Regions from separate parts of the Homo sapiens genome. Here region 2 is linked to region 1. The links are contacts of gene promoters, found by promoter capture Hi-C in blood cells and fetal thymus (Javierre and others, 2016). All regions are on one chromosome and are shown on one strand. The core of a region is centred on a gene start or on the middle of the fragment in contact, and the rest is flanking DNA. Distances in the headings are between cores, read along the strand shown.

Evidence for each region. Contacts are between HindIII fragments. The CHiCAGO score rates a contact against its expected background, and 5 or more counts as called.
Region 2: a contact is called between a fragment that was not itself captured here and the fragment with the promoter of SHPK in region 1, in 1 of 17 cell types (endothelial precursors). The highest score is 5.5, in endothelial precursors.

The regions. Positions count from the first base shown.
Region 1 is chr17:3,633,579-3,637,555 of GRCh38, reverse strand. It overlaps SHPK (sedoheptulokinase), which reads left to right and starts at 1,306. Exons shown (of 7, transcript NM_013276.4): 1 at 1,306-1,504. The coding sequence starts at 1,337. CTNS (cystinosin, lysosomal cystine transporter) reads right to left here and starts at 796. Exons shown (of 12, transcript NM_004937.3): 1 at 725-796; 2 at 240-449. RefSeq lists silencers at 431-520, 1,531-1,590 and enhancers at 801-1,050, 2,889-3,754. The HindIII fragment of the contact is 10,697 bases long and covers 1-2,793 here.
Region 2 is chr17:2,848,381-2,852,473 of GRCh38, reverse strand. All of the region lies in intron 2 of RAP1GAP2 (RAP1 GTPase activating protein 2), which reads right to left. Among named protein-coding and RNA genes, the nearest start is that of RAP1GAP2, 54 kb to the right of the region's middle. RefSeq lists an enhancer at 2,367-2,957. The HindIII fragment of the contact is 856 bases long and covers 1,291-2,146 here.

The DNA of each region.
Region 1 (3,977 bases), core at 57-2,556:
GGCGGAGGTTGCAGTGAGCCGAGATCGCGCCACTGCACTCCAGCCTGGGTGACAGAGGCTGCAGACTCCATCTCAAAAAAAAAAAAAAAATTGGCTTGGGGTGGTAGTGAAGAAATCTAGCTATTACAATGGTTTGTGGCCACAGAAACAAATACACAGCGTACTAGTGGTATTAAATTTTATGGGAAGGGGGTAGGTAGGAATAACGAGGTTGAGAAACAAGGATATAAAGTGGTTACCTCTGTTGCTTAGGGCGCCTAGCGAGCTCTCACAAAACACAGTAATCCTCAATGTTACTGGAAGAGGCAGAGCTCAGGAGTCCTCCCTTCGCCCAGTGTGAAAACCCGGAGGGGAGGATGGGGTCTCGTGCTGCTCAGTCCCCCGGAGCCCCGCACTCCGCACGTCAACCGGCGCTCTCGCAAAGGTTCTCTCAGCGTCTCCAAAGCAATCTGCAAATTCCCCAACCGAGACCCAGGCGGCAACTGAGCAGAAGGTAAGGGGCTGGGAACGGCACCCACCCCGGCAGCCCGCTGCCCCTGCCTCGGCTGACCACCGCTCGGGCCCTTCCACCCGGGGGTTGTCCCGTGTCGCGAGGCCAGCACTGGTGGCGGGGAAAGGAGCCCGCCGCGGCTGAGGGCGCTGGACCCCCGGCAGGCTGCCCCGCTGACCTGCTGTGCCTCAAGGGGTCCGCCTGGGAAACAGGGGAGGCCGCGTCCGCTCTCACCTGAGCGCCCCCAGGCTCGAGGAACCGCCCTCACGGGACGCATGAGCCTCGCCAGGTGCCGGTCAGGAATGCACCGCGTTCCCCTGCCCGGCTAGACTTTGGGAGAGGCGGGTCCGCTGTCACCTGACCTCCGCCACCTGACTCGTGGGGCCGGATCTCGGCGAGATGAGCTCTGGGAGTTGTAGTTTCCGCGCGTCTTAGACGGACAGAGCGCAGCTGGGTCGGGCCGGGGCGCAGAGATCGGGGCTCCGGCGTGAGGGAAGATGAGGTCCGCTGCCAGGGACACAGAGACTCTTGGAGCCGCCAGCGCCTCCCGGCTCCTTTCGTGAGCGAAGCTCAGACCGCCCTCCATTGGGCGGAAATCAGAGCCCGTGGGGCGGGGCCCCCTTTAGGTCCCGCCTTCCGCCGCCTCTCCGCCTATAGCCGGGGCCCGCCGAGAGGTTGCGTGGAAGCTCGCCTTCCCCGGCCAGTGGGAAGACGAGAAGCCTCCATGTTGGGTGTGGCTGAAAGATTGGCAGGCGACTCCCCGCCCCTGCCCCGCCCCCCTGGGCGAAGAGCGCGGACTTGTGGGGCCGCTGGCTGCAGACTGGAGCTGCGCGGGTCAGGGAGATAATGGCTGCGCGGCCGATCACCCTCGGCATTGACCTGGGCACCACATCTGTGAAGGCAGCTCTGCTGAGGGCCGCGCCCGACGACCCATCCGGGTTCGCAGTGCTGGCGAGCTGTGCCCGTGCTGCGCGGGCAGAGGCGGCGGTCGAGAGCGCGGTGGCCGGGCCCCAGGTGAGTTGGACCCCCGGGGCCGCGCCGCCTCCAGGAGCCTCCTGACCACCCTTTTCCACCCCAGGAGGCCTCCCTGACAGCCCTTCCCGCAATGAAGTCTCTATTCCAGCTTGTCCCCAGCTTCTCCAGGGGCCCGTCTGCCTGCAGCAGCTGTGCTCATGATCCCTTAGGTCTGGTCCCAGAATCCTTCCCACCTGCTGGGACCGATTCCCCCCCGCCCCCTCCCCGACTCTCTGGCTTCTTCTGGGGGCCTTGCGCTTGGCGCTGGATCCCTGTGCTCTCTGTCCCCTGACCTTGGAGGAACTGATCTCTTGTGTGTATGGAATGACCACAGGCCTCCCTTTCACTCTTGCTGCTCTCCGCTCCTCACACCTGCCCTGTGACCTCAAGTTCAGGATTCAGTTTGTTGCCCAGGGCAGAGTCTGGGTTTTCCTCCGGAAATCAGATGTCAAATCAGGCCTAACTGGCTCCTGGCTCATTCCACAGAAGCAGAATGCGGACCAAGAAACCTTTGGTCAGCCGGGCGCGGTGGCTCACGCCTGTAATCCCAGCGCTTTGGGAGGCCGAGGCGGGCGGATCACGAGGTCAGGAGATCGAGACCATCCTGGCTAACACGGTGAAACCCCGTCTGTACTAAAAATACAAAAAATTAGCGGGGCGTGGTGGCGGGCGCCTGTAGTCCCAGCTACTCGGGAGGCTGAGGCAGGAGAATGGCGCGAACCCGGGAGGCGGAGCTTGCAGTGAGTCGAGATCGCTCCGTTGCACTCCAGCCTGGGTGACAGAGCGAGACTCCTTCCCTTCCTTCCCTTCCTTCCTTCCTTCCTTCCTTCCTTCCTTCCTTCCTTCCTTCCTTCCTTCATTCTTTCCTTTCTTTCTCTTTCTTACCAAGTCTCGCTCTGTTGCCCAGGCTGGAGTACAGTGGCGTGATCTGGGCTCACTGCAACCTCCGCCAACTGGATTCAAGTGATTCTCCTGCTTCAGCCTCCCGAGTAGCTGGGACTACAGGTGTGAGCCACCGCGCCCGGCTACTTTTTGTATTTTTAGTAGAGACAGGGTTTCGCCATGTTCGCCAGACTGGTCTTGAACTCCTGACCTCAAGTGATCTGCCCACTTCAGCCTCCCAAAGTGCTAGGATTACAGTTGTGAGTCACTGCGCCTGGCCCAGCTTTGTTTTTCACAAGCTCTTGCCACATACATGGACACGGTTGTTTAGGGTTCAGAGCCCATTTGGCTCAGAAGCATTTCTGAGGATAGGGATTTCAGGAGCACTTTGTATCTACATAGAAGCTTTCAAGATTAGTTTGGTTGGGACATTAGGGCATATTAAAAGGATTCTTACTTAAAGGACTATGAATTGGAGGCAAAGTTGGCTCTGACCCTGGTGGGGTGAGCAGGAGAGCTGGCATTAGGGGAGAGTAGGCTCAGAAAGTGCCAGTTTCTCCTGAAATAGAGCACTTCTTTTTTTTTTTTTTTTTTTTTTGAGACAGGGTCTCGCTCTGTCACCCAGGCTGGAGTGCAGTGGTGCAATCTCTGCTCACTGAAACCTCTGCCTCCCGGGTTCAAGTGATTTTCGTGCCTCAGTTTCCCGAGTAGCTGGGATTACAGGTGTGCGCCACCATGCTTGGAGAATTTTTTTGTATTTTTGGTAGAGATGGGGTTTCACCATGTTGGCAAGGCTGGTCTCAAACTCCTGACCTCAACTGATCTGCCTGCCTCGGTTTCCCAAAGTGCTGGGATTACAGGTGTGAGCCACCGCACCCAGCATGGCCACTTTTTTTTTTTTTTTAATTGATCACTCTTGGGTGTTTCTCGCAGAGGGGGATTTGGCAGGGTCATAGGACAATAGTGGAGGGAAGGACAGCAGATAAACAAGTGAACAAAGGTCTCTGGTTTTCCTAGGCAGAGGACCCTGCGGCCTTCCGCAGTGTTTGTGTCCCTGGGTACTTGAGATTAGGGAGTGGTGATGACTCTTAACGGGCATGCTGCCTTCAAGCATCTGTTTAACAAAGCACATCTTGCACCGCCCTTAATCCATTTAACCCTGAGTGGACACAGCACATGTTTGAGAGAGCACAGGGTTGGGGGTAAGGTCACAGATCAACAGGATCCCAAGGCAGAAGAATTTTTCTTAGTACGGAACAAAATGAAAAGTCTCCCATGTCTACTTCTTTCTACACAGACACAGCAACCATCCGATTTCTCAATCTTTTCCCCACCTTTCCCCCTTTTCTATTCCACAAAACCGCCATTGTCATCATGGCCCATTCTCAATGAGCTGTTGGGTACACTACCCAGACGGGGTGGTGGCCGGGCAGAGGGGCTCCTCACTTCCCAGTAGGGGCGGCAGCACGGCCACTTCTTGAAAACTTTTCTGCCCTCCCTCCCCAGCTTTCAGCAGGCTGTTCTGTGCTTACAGGCTCACCCAGTGTGTCACACCTATTTAATGAAGTGCTTAGCGGAGGCCAGTCATTAA
Region 2 (4,093 bases), core at 469-2,968, 790 kb after region 1:
CTCCAATGCCCACAGCTTCCTGCTGGCACTGGAGTTGGGGTGGAGGGGAGGAAGCCCCAGGGTGGTTCTTAAATGCACCTGGTCTATTTATGAAGCAGCCGTTACCACTGGCCTTGTGCCCCCCACCCCCACCCCCACCCCCTCCCTGCCGGGGTTGTGGGGGATCAGAGATATAGATAGCCATGGACATCTTTTTATAGCTAGAGATTTGAATGACCCGGGCCCCACTCCTGAGATTGGCGGTTAGGCAGGCTGCAAGTACTATGCCAGTAGTGACTTAAGAATTGGTCTGGAAAAAGAATAAAATGAGTGTCCTTGGTAGAGAAAAGGGAAGAGCTCCCAGCAGCATGCAACCCAGAGCTTCTCTTCCCCTCTCTCCCACCGCGCTATAGCACACAGCACCCGAGGACCCACAGGTTAGCTGATGGACCGCTTCAGTTAGATGGCAGGGAAGGTGATGAGGGCGCTGGCTTAGGTCTATCCTAGCGTTGGGTGTATTTTACCCACACACAGAAGGCTGCACCTCAACGGAAGGCCTGATCCTCCTTCCCAGCAGGTGAGAGTGTGGGAGCTAGTTCAGGTCAAGTGCACAGTGGGTAACAGGGTGGCTCACACCTGTAATCCCAGCACTTTGGAAGGCCGAGGCAGGCAGGTGGATCACTTGAGTTGAGACCAGGAGTTCTAGACCAGCCTGGGCAACATAGTGAGACCCCACCTCTCCAAACAACTACAACAGGGAATTGGGATGATGAAGGCACAAAATCCACCATGCAGGTTCCATTATTCATTCTCTTATTCTGGGGTTCCCAGCCCTCTAAGTCCTTCTACAAGCCCAGTGTCACTGCAAACACAAGGCTGTCCCCCAAAAAATCGTAACCTCTCAGCCCCTGACTCCTGAGTCTCTAAGAGGTAGAATTTTCCTGGCAGTGAGAGGTCCCATCCTTCTGCCCCTGCCCTACAAGCTCGCCACCTTTGGTGCATAAACAGCAATTTCCCCTCTTAACTCCCACTCCAGCCCCCACAGCCCATCACACCCACACCCCACAGAGGGGACCCCAAAGCACAAGAAAACCCATCAATAGCAGAGACTGGAACAACCATCAATGCTAGGCTTACCCATTCCACCAGCATTTATTAAACATGTACAGTATGTCCAGCTTTATGCAAGAGACCAGGGCAAGAAAGAAAAATGGAAGACCATCCCTGCCCGAAACAAACAGGGTTAACACACTCCAAACCTCAAAAGAAGACCATTTCCAGCCAGTGTGTGCAGTTAGCCCAGCCAAAGCTTCCCACAATTGGGCCACACGCCACCTCCTTCATAATTCTTTGTCTTAGTGTCATGCTGCTCTGCTGTTTATAATTTTGCTTTAATTACATCAACTTACTTTTTCACTTTTTTTTTTTTTTTTCTTGAGACGTTGTTTTGCTCGTCGCCCAGGCTGGAGTGCAATGGCACGGTCTTGGCTCACTGCAACCTCCACCTCCTGGGTTCAAGCGATTCTCCTGGCTCAGCCTCCTGAGTAGCTGGGACTACCGGCATTCGCCACCACATCGGGCTAATTTTGTATTTTTAGTAGAGACGGGGTTTCGCCATGTTGGCCAGGCTGATCTCGAACTCCTGACCTCAGGTGATCCGCCTGCCTTGGCCTCCCAAGTTCTGGGATTACAGGTGTGAGCCATCGCGCCTGGCCTTTACTTAATTTTTTTTTTTTTTTTTTTTTGAGGTGGAGTCTTGCTCCATCCCTCAGGCTGGAGTGCAGTGGCAAGATCTTGGCTCACTGCAACTTCCGCCAACCGGGTTCATGCCATTCCCCTGCCTCAGCCTCCCGAGTAGCTGGGATTACAGGCGCCCGCCACCATGCCCGGCTAGTTTTTTTTGTATTTTTAGTAGAGACGGGGTTTCACCGTGTTAGCCAGGATGGTCTCGATCTCCTGACCTCGTGATCCGCCCATCTTGGCCTCCCAAAGTGCTGGGATTACAGGCATGAGCCACAGCGCCCGGCTGCCTTTACTTAATTTTAAAAGAAAACGTTATTGCAACCCTAAATGAAAATCCATTATCACTTGCCCTTCCTACCATGAAAACAAACATAAATTTATTAAGTTCTGCCTCAATACTGTTGCCTGACAAAGGCTCTAAGCTTGAAGTACCTTCCTTAAAAAAGCAGGCGGGCCAGGCGCAGTGGCTCACGCCTGTAATCCCAGCACTTTGGGAGGCCGAGGCGGGCGGATCATGAGGTCAGGAGATCGAGACCATCCTGGCTAACATGGTGAAACCCCGTCTCTACTAAAAATACAAAAAATTAGCCGGGCGTGGTGGCGGGTGCCTGTAATCCCAGCTACTCGGGAGGCTGAGGCAGGGGAATGGCATGAACCCGGGAGGCAGAGGTTGCAGTGAACCGAGATCACACCACTGCACTCCAGCCTGGGCAACAGAGCGAGACTCCATCTCAAAAAAAAAAAAAAAAAAAGCAGGCAGTGTTAGGTGTTAGTGACACACCTGCGCCAAACCAAGGCACTGTTCTTGAAGAAATCACAGTTCGAAAGAGAACGGACAGGGAAGAATTTTCACATTACTCTGCTCCAAGGCCACATTCATGAGGCACTTTGGGGTGGGCTGAGAAAGCTGGATACATGCAGACCGCAGGAAATGAGGACGGCAGAAGTCTCTGACGGCAGAGAAGGGGTCTTCCTGCAGGTCTCACCTCACCCAACTTATGCCCCACGGCGTCCCAGCTCTCAGGACCTCCATGGCCTGTTCCAGCCTCCAAAGCTCACAGTCCCAGAGAACAAAGTGCCCGGCAGCTGCCAGCCCAGGTCTCTCTTCCAGTCCAGGGGAACTCCAAAGGCTGAGGGGGCCTGGGTGGGAATCAGGCCTGGGGCGGGAGACAGCGAAGTTAATCATGAACAGAGCGCAGACAGCTGCACAGCCCGTTCCTGAGGGGCCAGTGGGTTGAGGCAGACAGACACGCATGCCTGGCCCTGAAGAAAAGGGCCTTCTGTGCCTGGGAACCGGCTCCAGGAGACATATCCATGAGAAAGCGGGAATCAGCCCCAATCCCCGTGCCCCTCGTCAGAGAGCCAGCCTGCAGCAGACGCCACCTCGTCGCCCCACCCAGCCACCAACTCCCAGCGCCCCACTGCTGGGCAGAATGACTGCCACCGTTCTGGGCTGGGATTGGGGGTGGGTGGGGGCGAGGGGGGCCATGGAGCAAGGAGGGTGGGGCCTTTGATGAAAACCAGATGTCTTCAAACGCCTTGCCCCTCCCCTCCACGGGCAGGGTCCCAGCTATTCCATGGACCACACAACCTTTGGGACAACGCAAGGGTTATAAACAGAGCCTTGGACAGGACGGTCCAGCACCCCCGCTCTCTTCTGCCTTTGAGGGTACACACATACACACACCTGCTCTGGGATATCACTCTGAAGCCCGCTCGCACACAGCTGAACGCTCACACCTGTGCTAAGACACCTCCACTCTTGGCAGGTACATCAGCGCCCCCTGCTGGGCCACAGCACAGTTGCGTCTCTGGGATGCCCCCTTAGGAGGAAGACAGAGGAGGGGGAAGAGGGAGGCAGGAAGGCGTCGGGGGAAGGGAAAGATTGAAGTCATCTGAGGTCGGGAAGCAGTTTCTATTTTTGAAAAGTGAGAGCTGGGCCGGGTGCGGTGGCTCACGCCTGTAATCCCAACACTTTGGAAGGCCGTGGCAGGCGAATCACTTGAGGCCAGGAGTTCGAGACCAGCCTGGCCAACATGGTGAAACCCCGTCTCTACTAAAAATACGAAAATCATCCAGGCGTGGTGGCGGGCGCTTGGAATACCAGTTACTCGGGAGGCTGAGGAAGGAGAATTGCTGGAGCCCAGAGGCGGAGGTTGTAGTGAGCTGAGATCGTGCCACTGCACTCCAGCCTGGGGAACAGAGCAAGACTCTATCTCATAAATAAATAACTAATTAAAAAAAAAAAAAGAAGGAAAAGAGAGAGATGCAGGAAAACTCTCTGCCAACATACTGACTCTCCTCCCAGCTTCTAAAATCCCCTCACAGAACCCATGACCAGCCCCCAAGAGGTCCATCCCACCACAATAGG